Linked DNA regions of Homo sapiens: all the other regions are linked to region 1. Evidence: promoter capture Hi-C in human tissues and cell types (Jung and others, 2019). All regions are on one chromosome and are shown on one strand. Each heading gives the region's core, a stretch centred on a gene start or on the middle of the fragment in contact. The rest is flanking DNA. Distances are from core to core; before and after follow the strand shown. Region 1 holds the start of SLC1A3 (solute carrier family 1 member 3). Region 2 overlaps SLC1A3 (solute carrier family 1 member 3). Region 3 has its middle 58 kb from the start of SLC1A3.

What was found. Contacts are between HindIII fragments. The study calls those that stand out against the background at their distance.
Region 2: a fragment that was not itself captured here is called in contact with the fragment with the promoter of SLC1A3 in region 1 in 1 of the 25 tissues and cell types used here (hippocampus).
Region 3: a fragment that was not itself captured here is called in contact with the fragment with the promoter of SLC1A3 in region 1 in 1 of the 25 tissues and cell types used here (aorta).

What each region holds. Positions count from the first base shown.
Region 1 is chr5:36,605,319-36,608,698 of GRCh38, reverse strand. It overlaps SLC1A3 (solute carrier family 1 member 3), which reads right to left and starts at 2,093. Exons shown (of 10, transcript NM_004172.5): 1 at 1,964-2,093; 2 at 95-370. The coding sequence starts at 275. RefSeq lists an enhancer at 1,887-1,986. The HindIII fragment of the contact is 11,728 bases long and covers 1-3,380 here.
Region 2 is chr5:36,654,320-36,657,755 of GRCh38, reverse strand. All of the region lies in intron 3 of SLC1A3 (solute carrier family 1 member 3), which reads right to left. Among named protein-coding and RNA genes, the nearest start is that of SLC1A3, 49 kb to the right of the region's middle. The HindIII fragment of the contact is 6,004 bases long and covers 1-3,436 here.
Region 3 is chr5:36,546,999-36,550,350 of GRCh38, reverse strand. No RefSeq gene overlaps it. Among named protein-coding and RNA genes, the nearest start is that of SLC1A3, 58 kb to the left of the region's middle. The HindIII fragment of the contact is 4,082 bases long and covers 1-3,352 here.

The DNA.
Region 1 (3,380 bases), core at 844-3,343:
CCTACAACTAGTTCATCTGATAATATTCCCCGGGCAGCCAGATGCCCCAGAGAAACAAGATACAGGTTTTTTTGTTTTTAATCAAATGACTCACCCACAATGACAGCGGTGACTGTGAGCAGCACAAAAGCATTCCGAAACAGGTAACTTTTAACATCCTCCTTTGTAATGTTCTGCACTTTCTTCTTGGCCAAAAGTGTGCGTTTACGGACTCCCTGCTGGAATCTCTCCATCCTGCCCCCCATCTTGGGCTCTTCTCCATTGCTTTTAGTCATATTTTACTTTTCTAGGAGGGTCTCTTCTTTGCACTTCAGTGTCTGGGAATCACCCACAGAAAGCCAAACCTCCTCTTTGGTATTAGAAAACACAACTAGAATGGGAGAAAAAGAGACATGAGTTATAGCCTCCAGGGGTGAGAAATCAGTGCTGCTCCACACCAGGCAAGCTCTTGGCAAATTGCATAATCTCAGCAGGAATCAAGGACTGGAGAGCCACAATACCAGACCTCAAGGTTGCAGTGTGCATATTTTAGTGGACCACGTGTGAGAAATGTGCATAAATTCGGAATATATTCTATTTTCTTTTTAAAAATCCGTCCTTCCCCTTCCAATGAGGCTATAAAAGGGTTCTTCAGAGCTAGATCTGACTGAGAACCCCTATTCCCACCCTCCCCCGCAGAACCCAGCTGATGCCTTGCACAACGTACACAATCAGTAAATGTCCAATTGAACTGAATGCACAGAAAGTATTCAATCATTACTTGACAAATTATGCTGTATACATGGTTGAAAGCATAACCAGGTCAATAAAAATAATTAAGATACTGATAGGTGGGAGTTGTCTCTGTTACATGCAGTAAAGTAACCAGCTATTTTCTTCATTAAGAAAAAAATATAATAATATCTACTAGTAAATATGGTCATAAAAAGAACACAAGTGCCCACAGTACATGGGAAATACATGTGACTATTTTACAGGGTAATTTTTTCATTTTTTTTCCATGAAATAAGCAAAGTGCTCTGGGCACATCTATAAATCATCTGAAATCACAATTCAGCTTCGTTTATCACAAGTAGAAGTATGAAGTAGTGTTTTTCTTTGTGACACACATGCTGGAATCTTCCGAGGAAACTATCGCTGACTTTTTAGCGTTTTAAAATTTAGGATTTCTAGAACAGATGAGATGAAACCAATTTTCATTCCAAACATTACAGCTTGTGGTTTCTGGTTTCTTTAAAGCACTCACGCTATTTAACTACATTTCAGTAAATCTCTTTCCTGGTGGAAATCAGCTGTTCTGAAAAATCAAGGGATTCCTCCTGGTGCTTTACAGGAGCTCTAATCCATAGCCCTTCCCATAATCAATCCGAGTGAAAACCAGCCGTACCATGGATGTGTGTCGCTGCCAACGCAAGCAGCCAGCGTGTGCGCCTGTGGGGGAGGTAACTGGAAACCAAAGGACTCCTCGCAAATGACTTCTCGCAATCCCAGTGCAGGAAAAAAAAAGACTTGTCTTAACAGTTTGCCTTTTAAATAAAATTGCAAGTTGGGGTCAGTGATACTAAGACTTCTAATTTGTTTAAGACTTCACACTGGATTAAATGCTTAGGGAGAAGTGAAGACCGGGAAATAGGAGAGACCAGATTTTTTTTTTTTTTAAACTAATAGCTCTGATTCCTCTTACCAGTCACTTTTAAGCAGATCCGCTCAACCTTGATCCTTTTCTAGATCTCGCGCCACAATCTGCCCCCAATCCACCCCGAATGACTCAACTCCGAATTAACAGCGGACCCGGCATAAACAGACACCACACTCTCACGACGTGAGATGACTAACAAGGACTTTATCTACCAAAATGGCTAGCCTTGATTCAGGCTACTCCTCTGCTTGGAAGGCAAAATACATCGGCAGAGAAGTGAAAGGAGAAATTAAACCCAGCAGGAACACAGAATGTGACACTTACCTTTTCTGATTTTGTAAGGGGTGGAAGATATCAAGCAGTAACGAGGTGAATTCCCCAGCAGGTACAACGGAGCAACAATCCGCAGCGCGCGTAAGCAGGCAGGCTAGCCCTGACAGTGTGCATGTGCTCTGAAACTGCAAGTTACTATCAGGGCAACTTAAGAAAAGGGGAGGAGTCTGTGCCCGGGAAAGGAGGAGTGGGGAATGGAAACCGCACAGGGAGGAGGGGGAAACCCCGAGGTTTCTGGAATATTGATTAATCTTGGCACACCAGAAGCAGGCTTGCTGGCTTTGTTTTGCTCCTTAGACCACTTTCACGCTTTGTCAGTTCACTGTCATTAGAAATGCAAAACCGGGACTAGGAAGAATTGAAAAATAAAGCGCACACAATCGGAAAGCTGAAAGTCTTGATTAGAACGTTTCAAAGACTTTTCTAAGGCTAAATTTAATTACCTCACATTATTGCATGTTTCCTCCCTTTCAGGGAAGACGAGGGTGTGCTCTTTAGCCTGGTTGTACAACTGTTACGAGAAAGTTCCTTTTTCGAATCGGGGAATTAACTGACGTTTCTTGGGAAGACACTGAATGCAGACAAGTATGTAGAAAAAAAATAATGCTTACTACGATTCTCTAAATTTGTCTAAAGTTAGGGACATGCCTCTATTTCAGCAGTTGAAACTTCAAAACTTCATTTTAACAAACCTAATTTAGCTCACACTGCCTGTGTTGCAAAGACGGAAAAGGTAGCAAATGTAAAGAGACTGGAATTTTTGCCAAACTAGAAAATGAAAAGCATTTTAAGACCAAGAGTGCAAAGTACACTTGAGATTTGGTGATTCAAAAGATAGGTTGCTGTTCAGATGTCTCCATTTTAAAGGATGCTAAATGTTCTCCCTACCACACACAACTTTTTTAGAGCTAAAAAATTCTCATTGCCTTGAGAAGGTAACTTGAGCTTCTAGTCCACTTTTCTTAAAAGAAAAATAAATTGTGAAAATAGATATTAGAAAATAAAAAAAAATTTTTTTGAGGTGACTTATTCCCAAAACTTAAATCTTCTTTAGAAGGAAGAAAATGGTTCATTAGAAACAAAAATTTATACCAGAATCACAGCCTGAGGTTTGGATTCTTGTTCACTGAATTTAATATTCCCCATGCAAAATATGCTCAATTCTTGGTCTATTATTCAACAAGAAAGTATGTCTTTTTTCCCCTCAATACAAATCTCTGGAGATCATAAAGAAATATCTCCTTTCACCCTCAACTGTATGTCCTTTTAAACAGCTACTGGTTGGAAAGCAATGGTGAATCATGTCAATGCTTTAAAATTACAAATCAGCAGCAATTATAACAGCTTTCTAACATGCTATCATTTTAAGAACTTACTGAAAGTACATGCTTTTGACATTCCCAGCCCT
Region 2 (3,436 bases), core at 253-2,752, 50 kb before region 1:
TGTTCCCCATCCTGTAATTGCGCAATTGCCTTTTGAATCTAAAAGCAGAAATGTACACTTATTCCTTGCTCAACTTCATCATGTTGGTTTCCATCCAGCATTGCAGCCTATTGAAATCATTATGAATCATGATCACAGGCATATGCAGTGGAAGCCATCCTTTTTGGGCTTATGTCGTATGAAAACACTATGTAGATGACTTCTATGTTGTTGAGTCGTTGATTAAAGTATGGAACAGGGCAGGGTTTTTTTAGAAAAGTACATAAGGGTGCTTCACCAGGTATCTTTGCAGGTTGACATGGAGCCTTAAACACTCATTAAGTCTAGATATTCAGCCAGATTCAAAGACACTTCGTGATTTTTATCAGGTCCTATTTTATTACTAAAGGTATTAGGGAAGATTCAGAATTTTTCAGAATAACCAAAACAAATTGTTTCAGGAATTCCACAACCAAAAAGTGATTATAGAAAGGGAGCACTTTTTAAACAAAAAAATTCCCTATAGCACATGAAGCTATTACAAGATGTTTTGTGGGAATACTGTTAGCCTGACTTTGTAACTTCAGGAATTACTGTTTTCCTAAAAGAATCAGTAGTATCAATCTAGAGAAGTATAAGCTAATAAATATCCTTCCCCTCTAGATAGGAATGTCATATCATTTGGGCAGAGATGTAAATGCATCAAGGATCAATACAAACAGAAGTTATTCATATGCAAAAGAAATAACAGCATAATTATTTTAGGCTTCAGAAAAGTTAATTGGATAATTCATTAGCAAAAATTTCTGGTTGTGCTACAATGATTATTAAAAAGTCCATTCTTTTAAAGTATATGCCTTAAGTTCAACTTCACTTTTATTCATTCTGGAATAACATATCAGTGATTTTCCAGGTCACAGCCCTTGAAGTATAGTAATACACGATGGTTTACATTGATTACTATATGCCCAGTGACTAACACTGCAGGAACTCAGTATAGCTTTGTTGAATGAATGATGAATGACAAATTCTGCAAATTCAGCAGGTGAGAATAATTAAGCAACTATACTCAATCTACAAATCAATGACATAATTTTGTAACATACTATAGCAAGAGTTCATCACTGCAACCAGGGCTGCAATGCAAATGTACAAATAGTAGCTCCTCTTCTCAAGGAGTTCTTTTGTTGCTAGACAAGTCAGATTCTCACTGACCAATTAGACAGTCATAGTCTCACCAAATAATAGAATGTTCAACCACACATGATGTAAAGGGCTAAGTACACGAGTACAGAAAAATTATGAAAAATATTTAGCTCATGTGGAGAAAAGACTTAAGGGAACAAATGCACTTTAAAATTATAAACTGATCCAGTACTAATCTAGAGGCCACATACCACATCAGGGGTTACATGGCTCTAGAGAGAGGGGGCTTTAGTGACACGTAGATTTGAGTTTGAATTCAAGCTCAGCCCCTTGCTAGCAGGGAGACCCTGAGACATTATGCAACCTCTCTGAGACCTAGTTTCTTGATCTATAAAATGGGAATAATAACAATGACCTTTCAGAAGGAATAACAAGTACATATGTTTAATAACCAGCATATTTTTTTTACCCAGTAGTTGCTAGCAATTATTATGGCAGGTAAAATTAAAAAGTCACTGACCAATTATAGAATTAACCTTTAATCAAGATTAGGATTTTAGTACTTTAAGGTAGAATAAGTATAATCTTTACTGCAACACCAATGTTCTCAGTCATTTACAGCTTCTGATGTAAATCACATCTTATTTATCTGATTACTGAGGAGCAATCATGCGTCCAGCTCTGTTCCAGGCTAAGTAAACCCTGTGATGTGTTTCCTCTAACTTGCACTCATCTTAATGCAATGGAAACTTGATTGTAGTGAACATAATTCCACAGGGAATCTCAAACACCCTTGGAAACCATTCTGTCATCAAAAAGTCAAAATTAAATGCCTAAAACTGGCCGGGGCCCTCCAGGTCTGGTGAGTGAGGTCAAGGAACCCAAAAGGCTTGATGATGTATAAAATGACACCACTAGTTAGTGGTGAGGCTAGGACAGAATGAAAGTTTCATGGCCTTTTGATAAGGCAAAGTGGCTTAAAGCTTTGCTTTAGTGCATGAGTTGGAAACTGGTTAAGTTTATGACAAGTGGAGTTTTCCCAATCTTTACAAGGTCACAAGCTTTCTTGGCAAGGTAGATTTTTTAATTCTAACATAGAAAATACAGTGACTTTTAATTGTTTACTCAGGGTCACCCATAAGCAGTTTTCAGAAACATCTATGAACTGCAGTAAGCAGCACTCAGGAGGCAGCCAGTCAGCAGAAACGGGGTGAAGTAACATGCAACACGATCTCTGAAACTGCCTAACAATTAGTGACAAAGCCAGGGCACAGCCAGTGAGAATGCCATCATTTGACCAAGCCGAGGCTGAGGAAATGATCCTCTCTAGGCAGACACTAGATGCAAGTGCAAAGAGAGACCTTACACCTGATACTCTCCGGCAAAGAAGCCAAAAGGGCTTTTGAAGTTGGTGTTTATAATATTAAAGCAGAATCTCAGAGTGTAGTAGTCACTGACATTAGCCAATGCCTATAGATTCACATAGACCACACTCACAGCCATGATTCCCCGTGAGCTCACCTCCAGGTCCCCCAGGAGGCACATACAACAAACATGTTTATTACTGTCACTACTATTATTTCCACTCCATAAACAAGCCCTGAATGCCAAAGTGACTTCTCCCACAGCTAGTCAATGCTGCAACTGGTAGCTCCAGAAGTTTGTGTTCTTAAGAACCAAACAGGAATTACTACAAATAAATGCAGCCAGAGCGAATGTCCCCTGCACCACTCAGCTGGCCCCTGTTTACCTTTTCAGATGCAAACATCTCCTCACTCTGCAGAGGAAGGAGATGTAGGACCTGGAGTCTATGGTTAACAGTGCTGTGACTTCCTTCTTAGGCACCTAGCACAGCTAACTGGAGGGCCTCAATACTGAATGAATTAACAACCTCAGCTAGACAATAGCAGCCCTGCATGACGCAGAGCACACATGCAATGGGGACAAGGAAGGGAAGGTAGCATGAAGACATATGGCAGATGCTCGGTCAAGACTGTTTTCTGTGTATCCAGTGAGGGGACAGAGCTATACAAGGCTTGCTAGGGGAAAGGAAATGGTGCCTCTTGAGAAGTGTATCGGCATCCACAGTCTTATGGAGTCTGTGCCCCTTTAGAAGTGTTATCAGCATCCAGTCTTAGGGAGGCTGCAGCATTTGTAAAATGCTTCATGAATGTGTGTGGAATAACTTTCGAATGGGGGGAAAGGTAAAACATTTCAAGTAGGGAGATAAACTGTGTTAAGAAGTCAAGTGATTGGGATATCGATGAGCAGGGACTCAGTCATTAAGATACACAAACCACCCTTCATCTAC
Region 3 (3,352 bases), core at 395-2,894, 58 kb after region 1:
CGTTTTAGTATTCTTTTTGTAGATTTCTTAGGACTTTCTACATATATAATCATATCATTGCAGAACAAGGACTGCTTTGTTTCTTTCTTTTCAGTAGTTATGTCTTCTATTCCTTTTTCTTGCTTGATCACACTGGCTAAGAAGTCTAGTATAATACTGAATGAACATGGTTAGAAAGGGTATCCTTGCCTTCTTCCTGATGTAAGGACGAAAGTCTGCTTTTAGGGATGATGTCAGCTGTAGGTTTTTCAATGTTCTTTATTAGATGAAAACACTTCCATTGTTTCCTAGATTCCTGAAAATTTTTATAATAAATGGATGTTGGATTTTTATTAAATGCTTTTCCTGCATTTATTAGAATCAATAGTTTTTCCTTTGTTCTAAGCAATATCACATTGATTGACAATATTATAATAATGTTAAGCAAACCTTGCATTCCTGAGATGAAAATCATTTGGTTATCATATATTCTCCTTATTATATATTGTTGTATTATTTTGCTAAACTTTTATTCAGGGTTTTTGAGTATATATTAGTGTGAAACATTGATATGTAGGCTTTTTCCCCCTTATAATGTCTGTCTAATTTTGGTATCCAAGAAATCCTAGCATTATGGAATGAGTTGAGTAAGAAATATTTCCACTTCTTTAATTTATTTGAAAGACTTTGTGTAGAATTGATATTATTTTTTCCTTAAGTGTTTGATAGAATTTGTCTATGAAACCAGCTGGGCCTGAAATTTTCTTTGTAGGAAGCTTTTAAATTATAAATTTAATTTTTAATAGAGGATTATTTGATTTTTACTTTTTCTTGACTAGGTTTTAGTAGTTTGTTTTTTTCAAAGAATTTTTAAAAATCTCATCTCTTTTGTCAAATTTATGGGATCAAATTGTTTGTAATATGCCTTTATTGTCACTTTTTTTTAAGACAGTGTCTTGCTCTGTCACTCAGGTTGCAGTGTAGTGATGTGAGGCTCACGGCAGCCTTAACCTCCCAGGCTCAAGTGATTCTCCCACCTCAGCCTGCCAAATAGCTGGGACTACAGGCATGCACCTCCACAACTGGGTAATTTTTAAATTTTTTGTAGAGATGGCGTCTCACTAGGTTGCTCACGTTGGTCTCAAACTCCTGGGCTCAAGTGATCCTCCCATCTTGGCTTCCCAAACTGCTGGGATTATAGGCATGAGGCACCGCTTCTGGCCCTTTATTATCTTTTTAATGGATGTAATATCTCTAGCTAGAAGGTTATCAATTTTACTTTTTCAAATAAACAGGTTTTGTTTTTAATTGATTTTTATGTACAGTTTTTCTGTTTTCAACTTTACTGACTTTAGCTCCTAACTTTAATATTTTCTTTCTTCTACTTTGGGTTTAATTTGCTCTTCTTTTTCTTAGCTTCAAGTCAAAGCTTTGTTCATTGACTTTAGAGCTTCTTTTATGATTGTTTAAACAATTAAAATTCCATAAATTTCTTCCTATACGCTGTTTTAGCTTCATCTCACAAAATTTGCTTTGTTGTTCTTTCATTTTCATTGAGTTCAAAATATTTTCTAATTTCTATTGTGACATATTCTTTTACCTATGGGTTATTTAGAAGTATATTGTTAGTTCCAAACATTTGCATATTTTTAGATATTTTCCTGTTGTTGGTTTCTAATTATTGCCTTGTGGTCACATATGCAACAAAATTATATTACTCTATAATTTCAATACATTTCATTTTCTTGAGATTTATTTTATACCCTAGTGTGTGGTCTTCATAAACATTCCATATGCACTGAAAAGAGTGTGTATTCTGTAGTTGTTGGATATAGTGTTCTATAAATATTAGTTATGTCAGATTGATTTATAGTGTTTTTCAGCCCCATTATACCCTTACTGGTTTTTTTGTTTGATTGTTCAGTCTATACTTATGTTTTGCTTGAGATGAAATTATTTCTCTGGCTGCTTAGAGCTACTTTCAATAGATTCAGTCTTTTACATTGATTTTACCATTTTAGATTCCTACACTCTTTTGTTTTGATTCCTTGCTTGTGTGACTGGATTTCATCGTTAAATAGTTTTTTCAAAATGTGTTTTAAGAAAGTATGATTTTTGTTTAAAAATGTTTACCTGTGGTTTTTATACCAGACAACATGTATGGGTAGATCTTTTCTTTTTCTCAGAATCTGGTATATGTTATTCCAATGTCTTCTGGAATTAAATTTTCTGTGGATAAGTCATCCTGCATTTTTACCCTATTTATGACTTTTAAATTTCTGCCTGGATTTCTTCCTTTATTTTTAAATTTATATATTTTATTATGAAATATAGTACACATACAGATTCCTTTATTTCTAAAGTTTAACAGTTTAATCAGACTACGTCGTGGTATTTAGTACATTATATCATTTTTACTTGATACTTAGTGTGCTCTTTCAAGTTTTTAGATTCTGTTCTTTATTCATTTCAGGGTAATTTTATATCTCTAAATACATTTTCCCCCTCTAAATCCATTTTATTTTTTACTTCAAGGACACCACCTACATTTAAGTTGAACTGTCTTTGTTCTCTATTATTTTACCTTCATTCATTTCATTTCTTTTATTTTTATTATGTATTCACTCTTTTTATCTTAAGATATTCCTCCACATCATTGATTTAATATTTAGCCTTATCTGTTTTATTCCTTGCCGTATCTAGGTTACTTATGGGATATATAATGGTGAGAGGTTTTTGGTATTCTCAATATGCTTTTTTTCATTCTCCATCTCCTTTCCCATCTCCATGTTGTTATATGTTCTTGCCTTTGCATTCTTTTTATATTGAATTAATTTTTTTTTTTGAGACAAAGTTTCACTCTGTGGCCAGGCTGGAGTGCAGTGGCGCAGTCTCGGCTCACTGCAACCTCTGCCTCCCGGGTTCAAGTGATTCTCCTGCCTCAGCCTCCCGAGTAGCTGGGACTACAGGCATGTGCCACCACGCCCAGCTAATTTTTGTATTTTTAGTAGAGATGGGGTTTCACCGTGTTGGCCAGGATGGTCTGGATCTCTTGACCTTGTGATCCGCCTGCCTTAGCCTCCCAAAGTGCTGGGATTACAGGTGTGAGCCACTGTTCCTGGTCAAATTAATATTCTTAATAAAGTTATTCTATAGAGACATTGTAAAATAATATTCTCCTGTTTCTTGAGCCCTATTCCAATTTTAGTCTTTCGTTTGTCTTTTGCATGCTACATTCCTTTATCTTCTTCTTCTTGTTTCTATTCATAGATTCTATTTAATTTCTTTTAACCTTGCCTATGCTTGGGAAGCTTTGTCCAAACTTTTATTTTCTCTATTATAGCATAGGCTTATGACATTTCTTATTTATAGC